Regions from separate parts of the Homo sapiens genome. Here region 1 is linked to region 2. The links are contacts of gene promoters, found by promoter capture Hi-C in blood cells and fetal thymus (Javierre and others, 2016). All regions are on one chromosome and are shown on one strand. The core of a region is centred on a gene start or on the middle of the fragment in contact, and the rest is flanking DNA. Distances in the headings are between cores, read along the strand shown. Region 1 overlaps DMPK (DM1 protein kinase). Region 2 holds the start of VASP (vasodilator stimulated phosphoprotein).

Region 1 (6,623 bases), core at 1,470-3,969, 270 kb after region 2:
TCCGGGGAAGGGGACACATGAGGGACTCACCTGTGGCTCCCTCTGCCTGCAGCAACTCCATCCGCTCCTGCAACTGCCGGACGTGTGCCTCTAGGTCCCGGTTCCGAGCCTCTGCCTCGCGTAGTTGACTGTGGGGAGGTAAGGACGGTGAGTCCGTCCGGGCCGGACGAGAGGGGATGCCAAGGGTTGCCACCGGCCCGCATCCCGGCCCCGGCCCCGGCCCCGATCCCGACCTGGCGAAGTTCTGGTTGTCCGTGCGGATGGCCTCCATCTCCCGGCTCAGGCTCTGCCGGGTGAGCACCTCCTCCTCCAGGGCTTCCTGGAGCTCCCGCAGCGTCACCTCGGCCTCAGCCTCTGCCGCAGGGACAGCCGCTGGAACTGCCACTTCAGCCTGTGTATGGGGACCAGGCTTAAGGCTGCCTGTGGCTCCTGGAAGACTCAGGACTTGGGCACTGGTTCCAGGCTAGGAATCCTTGTTTATCCCCTACTCCTCCGTCCCCTCAACATTTCTGGAATCCCCATAGCTCCTGCAATGATCCAAGCCCCCTCCCTTCCCTACCTCCCTCAGCCCCATCCCTGAGTCTGGTCCTCTAAATCTACACAGGGACCAGAGGGCTGGTGCTCAAACACTAACACAACCTATGTCCCTCTGCTGCTCAAAATCCCTCCAGCTCCCTAATGCCCTCACGACAAAAGGCCTTGCTGGGTTTTGTTTCCTGCTGGCCTCTCCAGCCTTCTCAGGAATGATTCAGCCAAACTACCTTTCAGGAACAAATCAGGATTCCCACCTGCCCAAGGCCTTTGCCCTGGAGGCTCTCGCCTGACCACTTGGCACCTTTCCTTCCATGGCTTGTTTCTCCTTCACCAGCGCTCAGCTCAAAGATCGACTTCTCAGATCCCCAGCAACACACACACCCTTACTTAATGCCCCACTGTAACTACAGAGACCGTCCCATGTCTGAAGTAACCTCGTCTCTCCGTGGTTTCTGTCTGCTTCTGTTCAGGAAGTCCCTAGAGGGCTCTACAGTGCACGCCACCCGGGAAGCCCTCACCTTTTCTCTCCCAATTGTCCCTGACGGACCCCCTCCCCTCCACCAACTTACTGTTTCATCCTGTGGGGACACCGAGGGCTCCAGGCTGGGCGCTTGCACGTGTGGCTCAAGCAGCTGCTCGGCCTCCAGTTCCATGGGTGTGGGGCCTGGGACCTCACTGTCCCTGGGGAGAGGAGGAGGGAGTGGGGAGGGAGACAGAATGCTGATTCTCTGGTGGAGAACCAGAACTTCTGGCCTGTGGGTAGGGGCAGCTGCTTCCAAGACCTCCTGATTTGAGGAAGGGGAGCAGCAGAGCGAAGAGAACAGAGTCCCAGGTAGGCCAATAGCCCCTCCTCTGCTTAGGAAAAGCCCTGCCCCTCTCCTGGCCTTGGGCCCCTGGGAGCTGCTCTTTCTAAACCTTCTGCAGGGACTTGGGGTCCAGACCCCCATGTTCTAGGGTCAGCTCATCTCCTCCCTTGACATGTGACCGCTGCAGACCCCTCTTCTCAGGGCCTCAGGACAGGGAGGCCGACCTGATGGGGAGACTGCTTGGCTCTGGCCACCTCCACAGATGTGGTCCTAAGACTGGGCATGGGACCCCAAGATGGCAACTTGAGGTCAGCACACCCCACTCAGCTGTGGGAAGGGGACAGCTCCTCCCTGGGGTATGAAGTGGCTGTCCCCTCCAACCCAGCAGTCCCTCCTGTGGGAACACGGCTCAGGACCTAGCTATCCTGGACATGCGCCTGGGTTCTAATAGAGGATGGGTTCAATCCTGACCCACCGTTCAGGCCCCGCAGCGGTTCAGAATCAAGCTGGAGTTCATTAATGATAAGGTATAGTATGTGTAATGTTGTCCAGTAATAAAAGCTGACTAGAAAACCAACTGTTCTCTTAGACAAAGTAGCATGAGGAAGGGGAAAAAAACAAACCAAAAAAACACCTGTTCTCCACTATTTAAACATGTGTCAGTACACGTGTGAGCCAGGGACCACTGCCATCTGGTGAGCTCACGAGATATCAACTTCCTTTTCCTTATCTGTATTTTCTAATTTACTTGTGATAAGCAATGCATTATTTGTGTAATTAATACTTTTGTTGAGACCAGGTCTCACTTTGTTGCCTAGGCTGGAATCTATCATGGCTCACTGAAGCCTCAAACTCCAGGCTCAAGTGATTCTCCTACTTCAGACTCCTGAGTAGCTAGGACTGCAGGCACAGACCACCATGCCTGGCACGATTTTTTCAATTTTTTGTAGAGACAGGGTCTCATTATGTTGCTCAGGCTGGTCTTGAACTCCTGGGCTGAAGCAATCCGTCCACTTCAGCCTCCCAAAGTGCTGGGATTCCAAGCGTGAGCCACCATGCCCAGCCTGTAAATTAGTACTTTTTTTTTTTTTTTTTTGAGATGAAGTTTCACTCTTGTTGCCCAGGCTGGAATGCAATGGCACGATCTCAGCTCACCACAACCTCCCCCTCCTGGGTTCTGATTCTCCTGCCTCAGCCTCCTGAGTAGCTGGGATTACAGGTATATGCCACCACGCCTGGCTAATTTTGTTTTTTAGTAGAGATGAGGTTTCTCCACGTTGGTCAGGCTGGTCTCGAACTCCTGACCTCAGGTGATCCACCCACCTCATCCTCCCAAAGCACTGGAATTACAGGCGTGAGCCACCACACCCGGCCTAAATAAATACTTTTTTTTTTTTTTTTTTGAGACGGAGTCTTGCTCTGTCGCCCAGGCTGGAGTGCAGTGGCATGATCTCGGCTCACTGCAAGCTCCGCCTCCCGGGTTCATGCCATTCTCCTGCCTCGCCTCCCAAGTAGCTGGGACCGCAAGCGCCCGCCACCATGCCCGGCTAATTTTTTTGTATTTTTAGTAGAGACGGGGTTTCACCGTGTTAGCCAGGATGGTCTCGATCTCCTGACCTCATGATCCACCTGCCTTGGCCTCCCAAAGTGCTAGGATTACAGGCGTGAGCCACCGCGGCCCGCCTAAATTAATACTTTTAAATGGCCTTATTGTTATATGGCTGATTCAAAGAATTTGCATTCTTTTACAACTGATTGTAAAAGTCTAAACTTCATATTTTCCAAGTTCTGAAGTCCTGTGGCTCTGTGTACTACAGACGTAAAAGTTAATGGTTACAAGATTCTGGGAAGCCCAGTCTGTGACTCTGAGGTTTTAAAATTCAATCTAACATTTTGAAGTACATAGATCTGAAAATTTAAGGTCCTCCAACTCTGGCCTCTTAGGAGTCTTTGGGCCCAAAACAGTAAGGTTCCAAGACTGATCCTGCAACTCCATTGGCTGCCAAGGAGCAGGACCCAGGAAGCTCAAGCAGCCTCGTGGCCCCTGGAGGCCGTCCAGGGCAGTGCTTACCTGAGGGCCATGCAGGAGTAGGAGTAGCCCACAAAAGGCAGGTGGACCCCTAGCGGCGCACCTTCCCGAATGTCCGACAGTGTCTCCTGCGCAAGACACACAGATGTGAGCAGCAGTCGTCAGGGCGGGCCCCTCACTGCTTTTTGATCTTGGCTTACATGTTCCCCCCAAACCAGCCCCAACTCAGGGCTTATCTAAAGTGGCCCCTCCAGCATTTTTTCTTTTTTCTTTTTCTTTGATACGGAGTCTCGCTCTGTTACCCAGGCTGGAGTGCAGTGGTGCAATCTCAGCTCACTGCAACCTCCGCCTCCCAGGTTCAGGCGATTCTCCTGCCTCAGCGTCCTGAGTAGCTGAGATTACAGGCGCCCTCTACCACGCCTGGCTAATTTTTTATATTTTTGGTAGAGACGGGGTTTCGCCACGCTGGCCAGGCTGGTCTCCATCTTCTGACCTCAAGTGATCCGCCTACCTCAGCTGTTGTAGTCCCAAACTCTGGGCTCAAGCAGTCCTCCAACCTCAGCCTCCCAAAGTGCTGGGATTACAAATATAAGCCACTGTGCCCAGCCCAGTTCTGTTTTTTTTTTTTAGATGGAGTCTTGCTGTCTCCCAGCCTAGAGTGCAGTGGCACAACCCCAGCCCACTGCAAACTCTGCCTCCCAGGTTCAATCAAGCGATTCTCCTGCCTCAGCCTCCTGAGTAGCTGGCATTACAGGCATACGCCACCAAGCCTGGCTAAATTTTGTATTTTTAGTAGACACAGGGTTTCACCATGTTGGCCAGGCTGGTCTTGAACTCCTGACTTCCAGTGATCTGCCTGCCTCAGCCTCCCAAAGTTCTGGGATTACAGGCGTGAACCACCTTGCCCAACCCTTTTTTTTTTTTTTTTTTTTGAGACAGAGTCTCACTCTGTCACCCAGACTGGAGTGTAGTGGCATGATCTTGGCTCACTGCAAACTCTGCCTCCCAGGTTCAAGCAATTCTCCTGCCTCAGCTTCCCCAGTAACTGGAATTACAGGCACCCGAGACCACACCCAGCTAATTTTCTTGTATTTTTAGTAGAGACGGGGTTTCACCGTGTTGGCCAGCCTAGTCTCAAAACTCCTGATCTCATGACCCACCGGCCTTGGACTCCCAAAGTGCTGGGATTACAGGCATGAGCCACAGCGCCCGGCCGCGGTCCAGCCTATTTTTTTTTTTTTTTTTTTTTTTTTCTGAGACAGAGTCTCGCTCTGTCGCCCAGGCTGGAGTGCAGTGGCACGATCTCGGCTCACTGCAAACTCTGCCTCCCGGGTTCACGCCATTCTCCTGCCTCAGCCTCCTGAGTAGCTGGGACTACAGGCGCCCGCCACCACGCCTGGCTAATTTTTTGTATTTTTAGGAGAGATGGGGTTTCACCGTGTTAGCCAAGATGGTCTCGATCTCCTGACCTCGTGATCCACCCGCCTCGGCCTCCCAAAGTGCTGAGATTACAGGCGTGAGCCACCACGCCCGGCCAGCCCAGCCTATTTTTTAATTTCAGTTTATCTTATTTTTGAGACAGAGTCTCTCTCCGTTGCCCAGGCTGGAGTGCAGTGGCACAATCACAGCTCACTGCAGCCTTGACCTCCTGGGCTCAAGCCCACGTCGGCCACCCTAGTAGCTGAGTATACAGGCATGCGCCACCACGCCCAACCAATTTTTAAAACATTTTTGTAGAGACGGGGGTCTCACCACATTGCCCAGGCTGGTCTCGAACTCCTGGGCTCAAGCAATCCACCCACTTCGGCCTGCCAAATTGCTGGGGTTACAGGCGTGAGCCACCGTGCCTGGCCCCATCATTTTTTCTTGTATCCTGTTGCTTCCCTTCAGGGCACCTGCCACACTCTCCATAATTCTCTAATTCTCTAGACTGCAACTGGATGAGGGCAGGGACCAGAGCTCATCTGGTCCGTGCTGGATCCCCAGTATTGTTCAGCAAAAGGGCACCCAGAGCCGAGCAAGCATGCCATGACAGCTTGTTACACGGTGAAGAGAGACGGCCTAAGGGAGGAGGAGTCCTCTCCTGCTTCTCATCCCTCCAAGTCTCAGCTCAGATAGCTCCCCACTCCAGAAAGCCCTCCAGGACCTTCCTTGCTGAGTCAGGAGTCCCCCACCCCCTGCACTCCATTGTCTCAGCCCTGATCACTCTGGGGCCTTACTGTCTGAAGACTGCTCTGTGTTCCCCCACTGGACTGTAAGTCTAGGTCACTGCTGGGTCCTCAGTAGTAGATGGGCACAGAGCAGGTGCTCTGGGGAATGAGTGATTCAGGACCCCAGAAGGTAGGCACTGTCCTTACTCCAACTTTATGGAGGGAGCATGGGGAGGTTCCCGCAGCCGAGCAGGGGCCACAGGTACCTACCCCGCCCCCGCTCACCATGGCAGTGAGCCCGTCCTCCACCAAGTCGAAGTTGCATGTGTCGGTGGCACCTTCGAAATCCGGTGTAAAGGGGGGCACGCTGTCCCGGAGACCATCCCAGTCGAGGCCAAAGAAGAAGGGATGTGTCCGGAAGTCGCCTGCTCCACCCCGGCCCAGCCGTGTCTCCGGGGGACACAGCAACCGCTGAATGAAGTCTCGAGCCTCCTCAGGGACCCCTTCGTCCACCAGCGGCAGAGAGAGGTGCTCCTGCTCAGAGGGAGAGGAGGCGATAGCCTGGGAGCGCCTACCGGGAGAGGCCAGGTCTCCCTGCGGCCGTGCTCACCTTGTAGTGGACGATCTTGCCATAGGTCTCCGCCGTGGAATCCGCGTAGAAGGGCGTCTGCCCATAGAACATTTCATAGGCGAATACACCCAGCGCCCACCAGTCACACTCGGGCCCGTAGCTGCCTGTCCCAGGCCCACCGCCCACAGCCTGCAGGATCTCGGGGGACAGGTAGTCTGGGGTGCCCACAGCCACCAGCGACCGCACCTGGACCAAAAGGAGCAGAGCGAGGCTTGGGCCCACCCCTCTGGGCCCACCAGCTCTGGGCCCTCCTTCCAACCACTCCCCAAATGCTTAGCCCCTCCCTCTGCCTGGTCTAATACTCCGCCACACAGATGCACACTTAAGCCTGGGTCACACCACCTCTTTTCCCCTCCAAATCCAGTCCCGCTCCCACACTCTGTGCCTTCCATCCCTCATCAGCAGCCCCAGTTGCTCTGTGGCCAGGGCACTGGCTCACCGTTCCATCTGCCCGCAGCTTGAGGCAAGAGCCG
Region 2 (6,999 bases), core at 2,153-4,652:
CCAAGCTGGAGTATAATGGCGCAATCATCGCTCACCACAGCCTCGAACTCCTGGGCTCAAGCAATCCTCCTACCTCATCTTCCCAAGTAGCTGGGACCACAGATGGATGATACCACACCCAGTTAATTTTTTTTTTTTTTTTAGAGATGGGGTCTCGGCCAGGCGCAGTGGCTCACACGTGTAATCCCACCACTTTGGGAGGCCCAGGTGGGCAGATCTTCTGAGGTCAGGAGTTCGAGACCAGCCTGACCAACATGGAGAAACCCCATCTCTACTAAAAAATGCAAAAATTAGCTGGGCTTGGTGGTGCATGCCTGTAATCCCAGCTACTTGGGAGGCTGAGGCAGGAGAATCGCTTGAACCCAGGAGGTGGAGGTTGCAGTGAGCCGAGATTGCGCCATTGAACTCTAGCCTGGGAAACAAGAATGAAACTCTGTCTCAAAAAAAAAAAAAAAAAAAAGAGAGAAATGGGGCCTCACTATGTTGTCCAGGCTGGTCTCAAACTCCCTGACCTCAAGTGATCCTCCTGCCTTGGCTTCTCAAAGCACCAAAGCACTGGGATTACAGGCATGACACACCTTGCCCAGTCCACACCTCCTTAAGTTGCTGCTCACTCCGTGCTTCAGAAAAGGATGTCCAAGGGTTTCACTATTCCCTGCCCTCATCTTTTTTTTGTTTTGTTTTGTTTAATTTTTTTTGAGGAGTCTTGCTCTGTCTCCCAGGCTGGAGTGTAGTGTCACGATCTTGGCTCACTGCAACCTCCGCCTCCGGGGTTCAAGTGATCCTCCCACCTCAGCCCCTCAGCCACCCAAGTAGCTGGGATTACAGGTGTGTGCCACCATGCCTGGTTAATTTTTTGTTTTTGGTAGAAACGGGGTTTCACCATGTTGGCCAGGCTGGTCTTGAACTCCTGACCTCAAGTGATCCACCCGCCTCGGCCTCCCAAAGTGCTGGGATTACAGGCGTGAGCCACTGTGCCCAGCCTCCCCTGTCCTCTTGATGAACATTTAAGCTATTTCCAATTTCTTGCTCTCACATCACTGCTACCGTAAAGATCGTTATGTACATATGCAAGCGTTCTCTTACACAGGGGTCTTGCTACCTGTTTTGTACAGCACTTAAGCTAAGAAGAGTTTTTTTTACAGTTTTTAAGCCTTGTAAGAAAAAAGAAAAACTGAAGAGTGTGTAAACCAGACCCTATGTCTAGCATATCTAAAATATTTCCTATTTGAACTTTTACAGAAAATGTTTGCCGGCTGGGCCTGGTGACTCACACCTCCAATCCCAGCACTTTGGGAGGCTGAGCCAGGCTGATCACTTTAGCCCAGGAGTTTGAGACCAGCCTGGGCAACACAGCTAAACCCTGTCTCTACAAAAAATTAGCCTGGCATGGTGGTGTGGACCTACAGTCCCAGCTACTCAGTGGGCTGAGGTTAGAGGATCGAATGAGCCCTGGTTATGCTACTGCGCTCCGGCATGGGCAACAAAGACCCTGTCTCCAACAAACAAACAAACAAAAAACCATGTTTGCTGACTGTTGTTGTAGTGTAGGTGGCACCCAGAAATGCCACCCCTCCTATGTCACAGATGGGAAAGCTGAGACCCAGAGAGGAGAACACAGTTACCCAAGGTCACACTGAACTGGTAACTCATTCAACTAGGTAAGTTTGTTGAGCTGCTGAGCCGGGCGGGCCTGGCTGGGGTGAGTGAGGTCCAGAAATTGATTAAGTCAACTGGGTGCAGTGGCTCATGCCTGTAATCCTAGCACTTTGGGAGACTGAGGCAGGCAGATCACCTGAGGTCATAAGTTTGAGACCAGCCTGGCCAACATGGTGAAATCCCATCTCTACTAAAAATACAAAAATTAGTTGGGCTTGGTGGCCCGTGCCTGTAATCCCAGCTACTTTAGGAGGGTGAGGCAGGAGAATTGCTTGAACCCAGGAGGGGGAGGTTGCAGTAAGCGGGGATCGAGCCAGCGCCCTCCAGCCTGGGTGACAGCGAGAGACTACATCTCAAAAAAAAAAAAAGAAAAAAAGAAATTTAGTCTACCCATTCTCCCAGACAACTCAGCCTGAGGAAACACACTGAGAAACAATGATAACCTCCGAGGAACAGGGTTCAAGGTCTCCCAGAGTGGGGTGGAGAAGGGGAGGGGAATTAATGTCAAAGCTTGGCCTGGAAGGATGACGTGCTCCCCAGGTAAAGGAGGTCAGGACAACATCAACATCCGGACATGGGACTCGGCTTGGACATACGCTGGAAAAGTGGATTCTCTCACATAGTCAGCTGGCCCTGAGAATTGTTGGTTTTACACTCAGACCTTGGTGGCTTTCCGGGTTCTGGGGGCTCAGGCAAGAGGGCCATAGGCCAGATTCATTCCCTGTCTCCAGGCCTCAGTTTACCCGTGTGTAAATGTGGAACTAACTGATTTCCCAGGGCTCGGGCGCCTCACCCGGGCCAGGTGGCGCTCTACCCAAGGGGCGCGACCAAATCAGTGACGTCACTCGGGGCGGGGCCGGCAAGACACGCTGCGGAAGCCTCAGAGGGTGTCTGGGCTCAGCCCGGAGCCGGCGTGTGGGGGCGGGGGCTCCCGGGAGGGTCTCCTCACCTCCGGGCCCTCCTGAGGGCTGGGATGATCCTGCTGTCCTCCGCAGGCGAAACTGAGTCAGAGCGGGGCGTGCGTGGGCCGGAGGCTTTACACACCAAAGAAGCCGGCGCCTCCTGCCCACCCCGGGCGAATGCCGGGCCCCCCACTCCCGCACTCCTCGCCAGTCCCCACCTCCACCCCACCCCACCCCCGACCCTGCGGCTGTGAGTCAGCGACCGACCGCGCCCCCTTGGCCCACTTCCTCCTCACCTTCCCGGGGCGGGCGGGGTGGGGTGAGAGGGGTTGGGCCCTACTCCCCCGACTTCCACTCCCGTGCGGGTGGGGGTCTCGCCCCCTTAGTAACCTCTCCGAAATTGACAGAAGAGAAACGCTGGGGAGGGGCGGTGTTCCGAAGATGGGATTTCAGGGAGAAAATCTGAGACCACTTGCTTAACTTGAGGGTCCTCCTCGACCCCCAAAATTGAGCGGAGTACGAGATGGAGAAGTCGATGGGGAAAGAAATCGCGCCCCTTCCGAGACCCTCCTCAGAATTCCCACAGTGGGAGCGAACTAGGAAGCAAGGGAGGTCCCCTTCCCCTTCACCAACTTGCCCCTCAGGTGGGGGTGATTCCCAGGGTGCACCCCTGGGCTACAACATTGGGGAGAGGAGCGAGATCGCGGAAGCCGAGGGTGCAGAGTTGCCCTTTTAAGCGCCCTCCACCCCCTCGCCTGGAGGCGCACGCGGCCCCTTTAAGGCGCGGGGCATTGTGGGTGCGGGGAGTGGAATTTTGGAACGAAATGTAACGAAGAGAAGTACAGTAGTAAGAGTAACACTGTAGCCGCCACCGGCAAGGGGTGCGCGCTGGGGAGCGGACGCTGCATCCCCTTTCTGCTGCAGGAACCTCTCATCAGACCGCCTGAGGGAAGCGGCGCCCGGAGACCCGCCCCGGCCCGGTCCACATTCTCCCCAGGAAGCCGGACTCTATGGGGCGGGACCCTGGGGGAGCCTGAGCCGAGCCCGGAGCCAGCCCCGAACCCCTGAACCTCCAGCCAGGGGCGCCCCGGGAGCAGCCAGCCCGTGGGCGAGCCGCCCGCCCGCCGAGCAGCCATGAGGTGAGCCGGACCTGCCCCCCGACCCGTCCCCGCCCGGGCGGGCTCCGCGCCCCGCCTTTGTCCCCCTCCCCCCCAGCTAGCTCCGGGCTGGAATTTGGGGACAGATCCTTGGGAGCCTCGGATTTGAGCTGAATCCCCTTGGACGCGCCCCAGAACCGTCGATCACTTCTCCACGACTGACTCCCCAAGCTCGGGGGGTGGTGGCGGTGAGGTTCTCCTGGGAGCCCTCAAGATTTGGGGGCGCTCGGAGGACTCCCGAATTGTTAAGACTTTTTTTAGAGGACCTCAAAGTTGGCAGCGACTCCCCGCAGGGATGCCAGGATTGAGGCAGGGCTCAGACTCTCCTCCCCCTCCCCCCAGACTTCAGCTCGAGGTCCGGGAAGGATTGTGGGGGACCGATTTGGGATACCCTGGGACTTGGAAGAGAGACTGAGACTCAGACCCTGGGTGTGCAGGTCCCCCGTTTACTTGGTGCTGGAAAAAGTCTCCCCAAGTGGGACCGCGCTCCATAACTTCGGGGGTACTTCTTAATCCCCTGGATTTTGGGGGTCACTTAGGTCTTCCTGTGGAGGAGGCTGGTGTGAACCGATCCAGGGACCTGGACGCAGCCTCCAGAGTCTGGTGGGACCCCCCCCTTCCCCGTCGCTCCGCACACAATCTGCTTAACTGGCCGTGCCTAGGACCGAGCGGGCGCTCGGAGCAGAGGGCGGCTCCCCGCCTCCGGCCATAAGGGCGGCCCGGCTCCCCCACCTGCGCGGCCCTGGAGAGGGAGGGGGCGCGGCAGCTGGGGGAAGGGGGCCTTTGTCTTCCTGACTCACCTGTCGAGACAGCTGGTGTGGGGGGCGGGCACCAAGCGCTGTAGGCCGGCTGCCTTCCCCACCACGGCCCCTCCCCCTTTGCTCACCGTCCCCCTATCCACCCGGAGCCTTGGGGTTGGAGGAGGGGGAGCTGGAAAGCTTCAAGGTCATAGCCCTCTTCCCTAGGGACCCAGGCTTCCCAGATAATTCCAGCTATCTTCCCAGGAATTTAATCCTGGGGGTGGCGGCCCAAGGGACCCAGGGATTTGGTCTGGCCGGGGCCTCCCCCGAACTCCTGGGCTCACCTGAGGGCGGGGCCAGTGTGGGCAGGGGGGCCCAACCATCCCCCCTATTCTTCCCTCCCCTGGCCCCCCATAATCTCTCCCATGGGGCCAGAGCCTGACAATACTATCTCCCTTCCTCTACTCTCTCTGGGACTTCCTGCCCCAAAGCCCCCAGCCTGAGCAGGGAGGCCCCTGGGGACGGTTGGGGATTAACCCCGTGGTGCCCACATCCCCCGCATTTCCTGAACCCCTGCCCTTTGACATCGGAGTGGCGTGGCATTCCTTTTTATGACCACTAGAGAATCCCCCTCCCGCGTTTGTTCCTTCTGATGTGAAAGGCATGGCTGGAAAATTTGGAGCAAGGAGGACACCCACAGATACCCTCAAGACTTCCTGCCTATCCGCTCCCCATTATAGCAACATCCCTTCCAAGTCCGCCCTGGAGAGGGGTCAGTTTAGGGAGCGTCGCTCTCTTCCTTCGCCCTCTTCCTCCGGGACTCTTCTCTCCCCTTGCCCCCCAGCCCCGCCCCTCCACCCCCCCTCGCGTTTCCGGTCCCAGGCTCGGTGGAAGGCGGATGGCGGATGTCCGAGTTAGTGCTGCCTCACTCACTGCAACCGTAAAAGGGCAGGAGCGGTGTCTGGGCCGGCCCCCTGTCCTCCCCACCACCACCACCACCACCAGCACCAGCCCTGGAAGCCCTGGCCCTCCCACAAGGCCCACCTCTTGCTGTGGTGGTGGCCAAGCATCCCGTCTTGTGGGGGTGCTGGGGTGGGGTGCGGTGCAGAAATGACCAGATGCCTGTCCCACCAAAAGGCCACTCCCACCTTTCCAGGGGGTCTCCCCTGCAGGTGGTCACACCCGACTTCCTGGGCTGTGCCTCTTCTCCAAGGACAGCCAGAATTCAAAACCCATGCCCCTATTACCCAGCTGGGGAAACTGAGGCTCAAAGAGAAAAAGACATGGCCAAGATCCCTCAGAAATTCCTAGGCAACGTTGGAGGGGTGGAGGAGCCTAGGATCCTCTGATTTCTGGCTGGTTTGGCTGGGGACAGTCCTGGGGGCAGTTGGAAGAGAGGATGTTAAGATGGAAAATTACAAGATATAGTTCTTTTTCTCCCAGTTTGACAAATATTTGTTGAGTGTTGGCTGTGTCCGGGACTGGAGCTGGGGTGCTGGGAAGACAGAGAAGCGAGGCAGAGGTCTAGAATCTCAGGGCAGAAGGGACTTGGGGAGAACTGGGGTCCATTTCTTTCTTCTTCCAATAATAGCTATTTTTATTTTTAAAAAATAAGAGACCATTTGATCAAGCATCTATTTTATGTGGGGCATTTTTGTGCCTGACAGCAATTCTGGCTGGTTTTTTTGTTGGTTTGTTTGTTTGTTTTGAGACGGAAATTTTGCTCTTGTTGCCCAGGCTGTTGTGAAATGGCATGATCTCGGCTCACTGCAACCTCCGTCTCCTGGGTTCAAGCGATTCTCCTCCTCAACCTTCCGAGTAGCTGGGACTACAGGTGCCTGCCACCATGCCCGGCTAATTTTTATATTTTTAGTAGAGATAGGGTTTCACCGTGATGGCCAGGCTGGTCTCGAACTCTTAACCTCAGGTGATCCACCCGCCTCGACCTCCTAAAGTGTTATTATTACAGACGTCAGCCACCACACCTGGCCCCTCATGGCAGTTCGAACAATGATACTATTACAACCTTGTGGCCTCCCCACCCCGGTACTCAGTTTATAGATGGGGAAACTGAGGCACAGGAAAGTTAGGCAAGGTGCCTATTAAACTCAAACAGGGCCAGGCGCCGGGGCTCATGCCTGTAATCCTAACACTTTGGGAGGCCAAGGCAGAAGGATCGCTTGAGCCCAGGAGTTTGAGAACAGCCTGGGCAATATGGTGTAACCCCGTCTCTACAAAATATACAAAAATTAGCTGGGTGTGGTGGCATGCGCCTGTAGTTCCAGCTACTCTGGAGGCTGAGGCGAGAGGATCGTTTGAGCTGGGGAGGTTGAGGCCGCAATGAGTCATATTCTTGCCACTGCACTCCAGCCTGGGTGACAAAGTGAGACCCTGTCTCAAAAAAAAAAAAAAAATAGAGATAACATGCTTTCCGTGTTCTTAATGAAGAAAAAGAAAAAAAAAAAGGAACGTGCTTTCACTGTGAAAACTCTTAAGATAATTCAGATAAGCCAAATGAAACCGAAGCTGCAACATTTATCT

What was found. The method cuts DNA at HindIII sites, captures the fragments that hold promoters and counts their contacts. A CHiCAGO score of 5 or more calls a contact.
Region 1: a contact is called between a fragment that was not itself captured here and the fragment with the promoter of VASP in region 2, in 3 of 17 cell types (naive B cells, fetal thymus and naive CD4 T cells). The highest score is 5.7, in naive B cells.

The regions. Positions count from the first base shown.
Region 1 is chr19:45,771,538-45,778,160 of GRCh38, forward strand. DMPK (DM1 protein kinase) reads right to left here. Exons shown (of 15, transcript NM_004409.5): 6 at 6,590-6,623; 7 at 6,130-6,336; 8 at 5,790-6,053; 9 at 3,412-3,497; 10 at 1,104-1,215; 11 at 234-391; 12 at 31-128. DM1-AS (DM1 locus antisense RNA) reads left to right here. Exons shown (of 2, transcript NR_147193.1): 2 at 1-346. Among named protein-coding and RNA genes, the nearest start is that of SIX5, 5.6 kb to the left of the region's middle. RefSeq lists enhancers at 54-611, 5,438-6,171. The HindIII fragment of the contact is 8,405 bases long and covers 1-6,623 here.
Region 2 is chr19:45,504,077-45,511,075 of GRCh38, forward strand. VASP (vasodilator stimulated phosphoprotein) reads left to right here and starts at 3,403. Exons shown (of 13, transcript NM_003370.4): 1 at 3,403-3,700. The coding sequence starts at 3,696. It overlaps LOC107985314 (a long non-coding RNA gene), which reads right to left and starts at 3,298. Exons shown (of 2, transcript XR_007067269.1): 1 at 2,609-3,298. RefSeq lists silencers at 2,464-2,713, 2,744-2,873, 3,554-3,733, 4,328-4,527, 5,338-5,467 and enhancers at 3,068-3,852, 3,134-3,403. The HindIII fragment of the contact is 2,487 bases long and covers 2,168-4,654 here.